2 separate regions of the Homo sapiens genome follow, and region 2 is linked to region 1. Evidence: promoter capture Hi-C in human tissues and cell types (Jung and others, 2019). All regions are on one chromosome and are shown on one strand. Each heading gives the region's core, a stretch centred on a gene start or on the middle of the fragment in contact. The rest is flanking DNA. Distances are from core to core; before and after follow the strand shown. Region 1 holds the start of EPHX3 (epoxide hydrolase 3). Region 2 overlaps CYP4F22 (cytochrome P450 family 4 subfamily F member 22).

Region 1 (4,669 bases), core at 791-3,290:
CAATCCACCGGCTTTGGCCTCCCAAAGTGCAGGGATTACAGGCAGGAGCCACCACGCCTGGCCATACTTTATTTTATTTATTTATTTTTTGAGATGGAGTTTTGCTCTTGTTGCCTAGGCTGGAGTGCAATGGCATGATCTCAGCTCACTGCAACCTCCACCTCCCAGGTTCAAGAGATTCTCCTGCATCAGCCTCCCGAGTAGCTGGGATTACAGGCATGCACCACCAATGCCTGGCTAATTACATTTTTTTTTTTTTTTTGTAGAGACAGTTGGGGTCTTGCTATGTTGACCAGACTGGTCTTGAACTCCTGGCCTCAAGTGATCCTCCCACCTCAGCCTCCCGGAGGGCTGGGATTACAGGTGTGAGCCACTGGGTCTGGCGTGTCATTAATTTCCGAATGAGGAGTTCCACAACCGAAGGGACCTGGGTTGATTGCTGCACCCTCAGCCCCTGATGTGTTGACAGGTATACAGAGAATTGAAAACACAGACACATGTCCCTGCCCCCTTGCACATAAGTACATCCCAGTGTCCCGGACTCCCACACACACCTTGGTACACCGACATGGGGGCACCACTGACCACAACCATCCGCTCGACCAGGGATGGGTAGTAGATGGAGAAATGCCAGGCAAGGAGGGCACCCCAGTCATGGGCCACAAGGATGCACTTCGAGTAACCTGTGGGAATTCAAGGAGCTCGCATAAGTGAGGTGCCCAGTAGGACTGAAGCAGGGATGGGGGAAGTAGGTTCCAGCAAGGAGAAAGCGGGGGTATGCGTGTGTGCAGGATGAGGGAGGCCACGCCTAGGATGGGGGTATGTCTGCACCCAGGCCTAGGATGACATCTTTGATGTCCACCAGCAGCAGGTCGATTGTGTAGCAGTCCACATCCCGAGGTGCATCCGAGGGGCCATAGCCTCGCAAGTCCACAGCCACAACATGGAAGCGGCTCTGGAACTCCCGGAGCTGGTAACGCCAGGAGAACCTGCCAGGCGGGCGAGGGAGGGAGGCTGAGTCAGGGCCCTCAGGTTGCACCTGCACCCTACGCACATCAGCAACCATTGGCAAACCCTCCTTCCTGCTCTAAACTTCCCCTAAAAGGAGGATGGGGAATCCCAGGCAGAGGCAGAGGCTGAGGCTGAAGCCAGCTACACCCTGAATCCAGGGAACTTCAATCAACCTCAATACCCCTTTGTCCTGTCCCTTCAGGGCCTAGGGATCCTGGGTATGCTGGCTCAGTACCCCTATCCCCATCTATGTTCAGCTTGTCCCGATCTATACAGCCCTCCTCCCTGCCTCTTGGGAGCCCAAGCTCCACCTGCCCCCGAGTCCCGTGGGCCTCAGGCCCCTGGCCCCAGACGTACCAGTTCTCAGGGAAGCCGTGCAGAAACAGCATGAGGGGTCCGTTACCTCGTCCAGCCGAGACATAGTGCAGACGCAGGCCCGAGCTCTAGGGGGAGGGCACAGCCTGAAGCCTGGGGAACCCTCTCTCCCGAGGCTTGAACCGTCTCGACCCCACGCGACCCCGCAGCCCCGATAGCGCCCCCGTGCGATCACCTTGAGGTTCAGGAAACCGTGCTCACCCAGCGAGGGGTCGCTCAGGCAGGCGGGGGACGCGCTCCGACGGCGCCCGCAGCAGCCGCGCCGGGGCCGGCACAGCACGTGCGTGAGCGCTATGCAGCCGTAGACCGCCGCGGCCACCAGCGCCACCGAGAACACCAGGCTCCACATGAAGGCGCGCAGCAGCTTCAGCGACAGGCGCGACGGCGCCAGCAGCGCGGTCACCACCAGCTCCGGCATGTCGCCGCGCTCCGGGACCACGGCGGCGCTGCCGGCCAGGGGCACCTGCAGCAGCGGCGAAGCGGTGTCAGGGCTCAGGGGCCCATCGCCCTTGGCCTGGGGCCCCTCCGTGCCGTCGGGATTTGTGGGACGCGCTGAAGGAAGAGGCGGGCGGCTCCGACAGAAAACAGCCAGAGCGCACCACTCACCTGAGTGCCAGGTAAACACCTGGGCGCGACAGGGACAGGAAACAAGGGTAGGGTGCGGAGGCTGGGGAGGAAGAGGTTGGAAAGGGGGGAAATAAATGGGCGGGGCCTAGCAGGTCCTGTGCGGGGCTTAGGGCCGGGGCGGGGCCCAGGAAGACTCAGCAGCGGGTGGGTGAGGGTCTAAAGGCGGCAATTCCGGGCCGGGTGCGGTGGCTCACGCCTGTAATCCCAGCACTTTGGTAGGCCGAGGCGGGCGGATCACCTGAGATCAAGAGCTCGAGACCAGCCTGGGCAACGTGGTGAAACCCCGTCTCTACTAAAAATACAAAAATTAGCTGGGCGTGGTGGCGGGCGCCTGTAGTCCCAGCTACTTGGGAGGCTGAGGCAGGAGAATCGCTTGAACCCGGGACGTGGAGGTTGCAGTGAGCTGAGATCGCGCCACTGTACTCCAGCCTGGGTCACAACAGGGAAACTCCGTCTCAAAAAAGAAAAAAAAAAAAGGCAATTCCGAGCCCAGACAAACCTTAAGGAGGGGATCCTGGATCTTCAGTTAAGTGGGCGACACCTGGAGTGAGGGGCGGGGCATATGCAGAGTAGGTGCGGCCTACAAGCCAAAAAGGAGAAAGAGTTGGAATGGTGGGCCTGGCTTATGCGGGTGGGCGGGGAGAGGGTGGATCCTAGAGGAGGTGAGGCCTAACATTGGGCGAAGAAGGCGGGAGCCTGGGCCAATGAGCTGACGGTAGGCCGGGGAGGGGGCGGTGGGGTGGGGTGGGCAATGGGCAATGAGACGGAGGGCGGGGCCGGGACCTAATATGGCGGGTCAGGAGGGTCTGGAAGACGAAGAAGAGGGACAGGCAATGCCAGGTCTAGGACTAGGAGGGAGGCGCGGGCGGTATTAGCGGCTGGAGGAGGCTTCGGGAGGCCCGGCCGACGGCCGCCGCCTGGTGCTACCCACCCAGGGGCGCGCGACCCTCCCTTCGGTCTGGCTCCAAAGACCTAGCAGCACTGACTTCACCCAGCTGTGGTTCCAACGGCGGGTCCAGCGGCCTCGGCCCGGCGCCGTCCTCCTGCTGGCCCAACAGGCCCGCCAGCCCGCCCCTGTACGTCTGTGATTGGACGGCGGCGGCCACTGATGTTCAAGCGACAGGTCCTGGCCCGGGAGCCAATCTGCAGGTGTTGAGGCCCAGGCTCCGAGAGCGGGCCGAGGAGGCGTGGATACCCTGATTCCTAGGGGGCAGGCCTGGTTCCCCCGAGGAGGACCCGGCCTATGAATGACTGGAGTTCTGGGGTTCTGGCCGAAAGAGGAAGTGGGACAGGGCCGGGTGTGATGGGGCCTAGAGTCACAGAGCCTTGCGGCCCTGCTGTCCCTGCAAGAAGCCAGCTTCTGGCCAGGCGCGGTGGCTCACGCCTGTAATCCCAGCACTTTGGGAGGCCGAGGCGGGCGGATCACGAGGTCAGGAGATCGAGACCATCCTAACATGGTGAAACCCTGTCTCTACTAAAAATACAAAAAATTAGCCAGGCGTGGTGGCGGGCGCCTGTAGTCCCAGCTACTAGGGAGGCTGAGGCAGGAGAACGGCGTGAACCCAGGAGGCGGAGGTTGCAGTGAGCTGAGATTGCGCCACTGCACTCCAGCCAGGGCGACAGAGCGAGACTCCGTCTCAAAAAAAAAAAAAAAAGCAGCCAGCTTCTTCCTCCTATTTTGCAACCTTCTCCCGATATCCTTGAACATTTTAGGGACAGCCATCACTTAACCATAGAGCAACCCTATTAAGTCTAAGTAGCATAATCACATTCCTGTAGTATAGATCATGAACCTGAAATTCGAGGATGAAGTCATTTGCCTGAAGACATACATCTTGTAAAATAGCCATCCGCAAAGATGTAGGGAAAAAGGCAGCGATCTGTGGCTACACCTCCCCTTCCTCCCGGAAGCAGCCACTGGAACGTTTTTAGCTTTTTCTTTTTTTTTCAGATGGAGTTTCGATCATAGCTCACTGCAGCCTCGAACTCCTGGGCTCAAGCACTACAACCTGTAGTTGGGACTACAGGCCTGTGCCACCACACTCAGCTAATTTTTCAAAAACTTTTCAGAGAGACGACTTGCTATATTGTCCAGGCTGGTCTCAAACTCCTGGCCTCAAGCAATCCTCAAGCCTCCACCTCCCAAAGTGGGATTACAGATGCAAGCCACCGTGCCTGACCTTTATTTCTTGACTTAACCAATGTATGACATCAGCCACTGACTTGCTCACATCACTACCCCGGACGTGCCGTTTTTTGTTTCCCTGTTAGTTTCCTTTAAAAACACTCCACTTGTCACCTCTTGCCCCTTTCCACCTCCCACTTTTATCCATATACCTTTGTACTGTCAAGGCTGCTAAACATTATACTGTCCTGGGACCATAACTAAGTCCATGAAGTTGCCACTTAAAGGTGAATAGTGGTTTATGTTCTGCCTCAGTGAACAATGCATCTCAAGAGCCGAATAGACCACTATGATTACATTGCCCATAGTGTACAAACTTTTGTTCTCCCTGGACTACTTAACCACTACCTTTCTTTTGTTGTGTGATTAGCCTACATCAAAGCTTTGGGGGTTTTTTTGTTTTTGTTTTTTTTGAGATGGGAGTCTCACCATATCACCCAAGCTGGAATGCAGTGGTGTGATCTCGGCTCA
Region 2 (4,385 bases), core at 599-3,098, 320 kb after region 1:
GCTGCAATGAGCTATGGTTATTTATTTATTTATTTATTTGAGACTGGGTCTTGCTCTGTTGCCCAAGCTGGAGCGTGTGCAGTGGTGCGATCTTGGCTCACTGCAACTTCTACCTCCTGGGTTCAAGAGATTCTCCTGCCTCAGCTTTCTGAGTAGTTGGGATTACAGGTGTGTGCCACCATGCCTGGCTAATTTTTTTGTATTTTTAGTAGAGATGGGGTTTCACCATGTTGGCCAGGCTGGTCTTGAACTCCTGAGCTCAGATGATCCATCTGCCTTGGCCTCCCAAAGTGCTGGGATTACAAGCGTGAGCCACCGCGCCCAGCCTGCAATGAGCTATGATCGCGCTTCTGCACTCCAGCCTGAGTGAGACTCTGACTCTAACAAACAAACAAACAAACAAAGACAGACAAACAAACAAAAAAAAAGAAAAACAGGTGGAGGGGGCACTTTAGCTCGAGTGGTTATGAAAGGCCTTGCCGAGGAGATGTTTGAGCTGAGAACTTAGGGGATGAAGGATCAGGGAGAAGCCTGTTCTAGGCAGAGGAAACAGCAAGTGCAAAGGCCCTGAGGTGGAATCTCACTGGTGCGTGTGAACAACAGAAGGAGGCAGGTGTGGCTGCATTGCAGGAAGTGCAAGGTGGAATGGAAGAGGTGGCCCTGGGGTGCTCCCCATCCATCTTTACTGACCCCCAGAGGCTCAGGGAAGGGGGCCAGGCTGGGATGTCTGGGGCAGCCCCCAGACTCATCTCCAGGCTGTTCCTCCCTAGGTGTACAACCCCTACCGCTTTGACCCGGACAACCCACAGCAGCGCTCTCCACTGGCCTATGTGCCCTTCTCTGCAGGACCCAGGTAACCCCTCTATTTCCCCTAGTCCAAGCCAGCTGTGTAGGAACAGAGGCAGGGAAAGATCAGGAATGTGCCTCTCAGGAGCAGAGATCAGATGGCACCCAGGCGTCCTTTCTGAAGACCCAGCACCCTCTCCCCAATGCGCCAGGAGGCCCCCAAATCAGACTCTGCAATAGCATCCTGGGTATTGAGCACCAACGGTGTGTCAGGCCCTGAGTTCTGGGCTCCCACGCTCCCATTGGCTCTATGATGCCTTTGTCCCCGTTTTTACAGATGAAGGAACTGAGACTCAGAGGGGGCGCTGTGTATCCAGGACACACAGCTAGTAAGAGGCTGTACTGGGATTCAGACACTCAACCCCAAGGTCACATTAATTGAGCGATCCGTGGGGTCTCACTTTAACCCTCACCCAGCGTGGGGTTTCACTTTAACCCTCAGCCAGCCCAGGATGCTTGCTTCATTTTCAAAGGAGGCATGTGACCCCCGGGGACCAGTGCTCACACAGAAGCTGGGCCTGAGCCCTGTCCCCTCTTCCTCCAGGAATTGCATCGGACAGAGCTTCGCCATGGCCGAGTTGCGCGTGGTTGTGGCACTAACACTGCTACGTTTCCGCCTGAGCGTGGACCGAACGCGCAAGGTGCGGCGGAAGCCGGAGCTCATACTGCGCACGGAGAACGGGCTCTGGCTCAAGGTGGAGCCGCTGCCTCCGCGGGCCTGAGCGTGGGCGCGCCCCTGCGGCTCCCGAGGGTCCAGGCCCCGCCCCCAAAGGACCAGGACTCGCCCCAAAGATCCCGAGGGCATAGGCCACCCCCCTCGAAGTTCAGGTTCAGCTCCTGGATGACCAGGCACCGCTGTTGAGCAGCCTGGTGGTACTGGCCACGCCCCTCAAGGCAAGGCTCCTCCCCTTAGGGGGCCTGATCCCGCCCCTTGAGGCTTAGGTCCCGCCCCCTGACTTCTCGCACCTGTCCTGTTTGAGGGACCAGGGTCGACCCTGCCCCCTTGGGCTCAGGCCCCGCCCCCAGGATCCTACGGATTGAGGTCCTCAGGCCACGCCCCTGCAGATCCAGGTCTCCAGGCCTTGCCCACTGAGCCTTCAGAGGACCTAAGACCCACCTATGACTCAGGGCCCACCACACCCCACCCCCCCCCAACTGGCTGAACCCCTGGCAGGCTTCCAAACTGAGGAAAGCTGGAGCCTGACGTCAGAGCTTTTAACTCGGACATCACCCTCCTGAGGCCCTCAGCTCATACGGGCAGACTGCTCAGGCGTGAGGCTGGATCGTAGGGTTCGAGGCTGCTTGCTTTTGTTGTTGTTTTGTAAACTCAGACCCTTGTAAGCCCCTTCCTTCCTCCCTTGCCCAAAGATCCTTTGCTGAGTGTTCTGTTTTTGCAGAATAAAAGCAAAGGATGCAGACTTACCCCACCCTCCACCCCTAGCTCAGCCAGATCCTTACACGTGGAGCCCCCAGCATGGGAATGAGGGGCTCTGCAACTGAGCGAAGCTGCGGGCTAGGAGGCTGGAAAGCCATTTATCCTAGGACATAAACTCAGATTTTGGGGGTCAGTTTGTGTGTTCATTTATTTCATCAACAGATCACATATTGTTTGCTGGCACTGCTTCAGAACCACAGGCAGGCCCTGTTTTCTGCCTTCTTAGGGGGTGGGGGACAGATGTTGAACAAATAATTCCACGTGTAAAGGTTTATTTACAACCCAGGACAGGTGCTCCAAAGGAGAGGCCCCGGGTGCTGGATGAATATAGCAGAGGGATGGGGATGGGTCAGGGAGAGCTTCTCCGATGCTGGAATGGAAGTTGAGTGGGTGACAAGGGGAGGGAAGAGTATTCCAGGCAGAAGGAACAACATCTGAGAATACCCTGAGCTGAGGGAGAACAGAGTGTGTTTGAGGAACTCACCAGGGGCCAGGTGGTTGGATCTGGGAAGTGGGGGCAGAATGAAGGAAGGGGCCAAATGCACAGGCTTTATGCTGAGGGCAATAGGGAGCCATGGAGAGTGTGTGAGCGGGATCAGGACAGGACATGGCCAGATCTAGGGCTGGCAGGGAGGTGACTTGCGGGGTTGGGACCCTGGGAAAGAGGGAAGCTGAGGTCCAGACAACAGGAAGGGCCAGGATTGGGGTGACTATCTAGCAGTGGGGGCTGAGGGGAGGGAGGTGGTAAGGGTGATGCTCAGGTATTTGGCTGAGGGAACTTGATGGTAGAGTAGTCCCTGATATGGGAATATAAAAGATGGGGGCCAGGCGTGATGGCTTACACCTGTAATCCCAGCACTTTGGGAGGCTGAGGCTGGAGGATTGCTTGAGACCAGGAGTTAGAGACCAGCCAGGGCAACACAGTGAGACTCCATTTCTACAAAAAATAAAAAATTAGCCAGGTGTGATGGTGCACATCTGTAGTCCCAGCTACTTGGGAGGCTGAGGCAGGAGGATCACTTGAGCTGAGGAGTTTGAGGCTGCAGTGAGCTATGATCACACCACTGCACTCCAGCTGGGGCAACAGAGCAAGACCCTGTTCCAAAAACAAACAAACAAAAAAAGGTGGGCAATGACAATGTCAGCAATTTTATACATATAAAATGCTACACTAAAGGAAAATGATACTGCTATTATACCACATATATAATATATATATATGCACTATATATGCCATCATTATATATATAGTGGTGGTATAATAGTGGTATCATCTTCCTTTTAGGTAGCATTTGCCTGTAGACTATTTCCATCTAGGTCACTAGAGACAATAATATTAATTCAACAGGCCGGGTGCGGTGGCTCATGCCTGTAATCCCAGCACTTTGGGAGGCTGAGACAGGTGGATCACCTGAGGTTAGGAGTTTGAGACCAGCCTGGCCAACATGGTGAAACCCTGTCTCTACTAAAAAATACAAAAATTAGCCACGTTTGATGGCGGGTGCCTGTAATCCCAGCTACTCAGTAGGCTGAGGCAGGAGAATCGCTTGAACCTGGGAGGTGGAGGTTGCAGTGAGCCGAGATTGTGCCACTGCACTCCAGCCTGGGCGACAGAGTGAGATTCTGTCTAAAAAAAAAATTAATTTACCAAATATTTCTTGGGCAATCTGCCGTGAGACAGGCACTGTTTGAGCCCTAGGTTCCCAGAGTTTACCTCTAGGGAGGAGATATGATAAATGATAAATAAGTAAAGAAAGAAGTAAATTCACACAGGGCCTTTTCTGTGACTTTTTTTGTGACAGAAATGGGGAGTTCTGAGCAGAGGAGGGACAAGCTTTGTCATACGAACTTTTTTTTTTTTTTTTTTGAGACAGGGTCATGCTTTGTTGCTCAGGCTGGTGTGCAGGGGTGCAACCATAGCTCACTGCAGCCTTGGCCTCCTTGGGCTCAAACGATCCTCCTGCCTCAGCCTCCTGAGTAGCTGGGACCACAGGCACACACCACCATGCCCAGCTAAGCTTTGTATTTGTTATCGAGACGGGGGTCTTACCATGTTGCCCAGGCTGGTCTTGAACTCCTGGTCTCAAGCGATCCTCCCACCTCA

What was found. The method cuts DNA at HindIII sites, captures the fragments that hold promoters and counts their contacts. A contact is called where the count stands out against the background at its distance.
Region 2: a fragment that was not itself captured here is called in contact with the fragment with the promoter of EPHX3 in region 1 in 1 of the 25 tissues and cell types used here (spleen).

Annotation. Positions count from the first base shown.
Region 1 is chr19:15,230,408-15,235,076 of GRCh38, forward strand. It overlaps EPHX3 (epoxide hydrolase 3), which reads right to left and starts at 2,041. Exons shown (of 7, transcript NM_024794.3): 1 at 1,562-2,041; 2 at 1,369-1,454; 3 at 832-989; 4 at 555-683. The coding sequence starts at 1,804. RefSeq lists an enhancer at 1,791-2,292 and a silencer at 2,631-2,790. The HindIII fragment of the contact is 16,546 bases long and covers 1-4,669 here.
Region 2 is chr19:15,549,904-15,554,288 of GRCh38, forward strand. It overlaps CYP4F22 (cytochrome P450 family 4 subfamily F member 22), which reads left to right. Exons shown (of 14, transcript NM_173483.4): 13 at 771-853; 14 at 1,391-2,414. The coding sequence ends at 1,568. Among named protein-coding and RNA genes, the nearest start is that of CYP4F22, 44 kb to the left of the region's middle. RefSeq lists a silencer at 1,663-1,712. The HindIII fragment of the contact is 4,717 bases long and covers 1-4,207 here.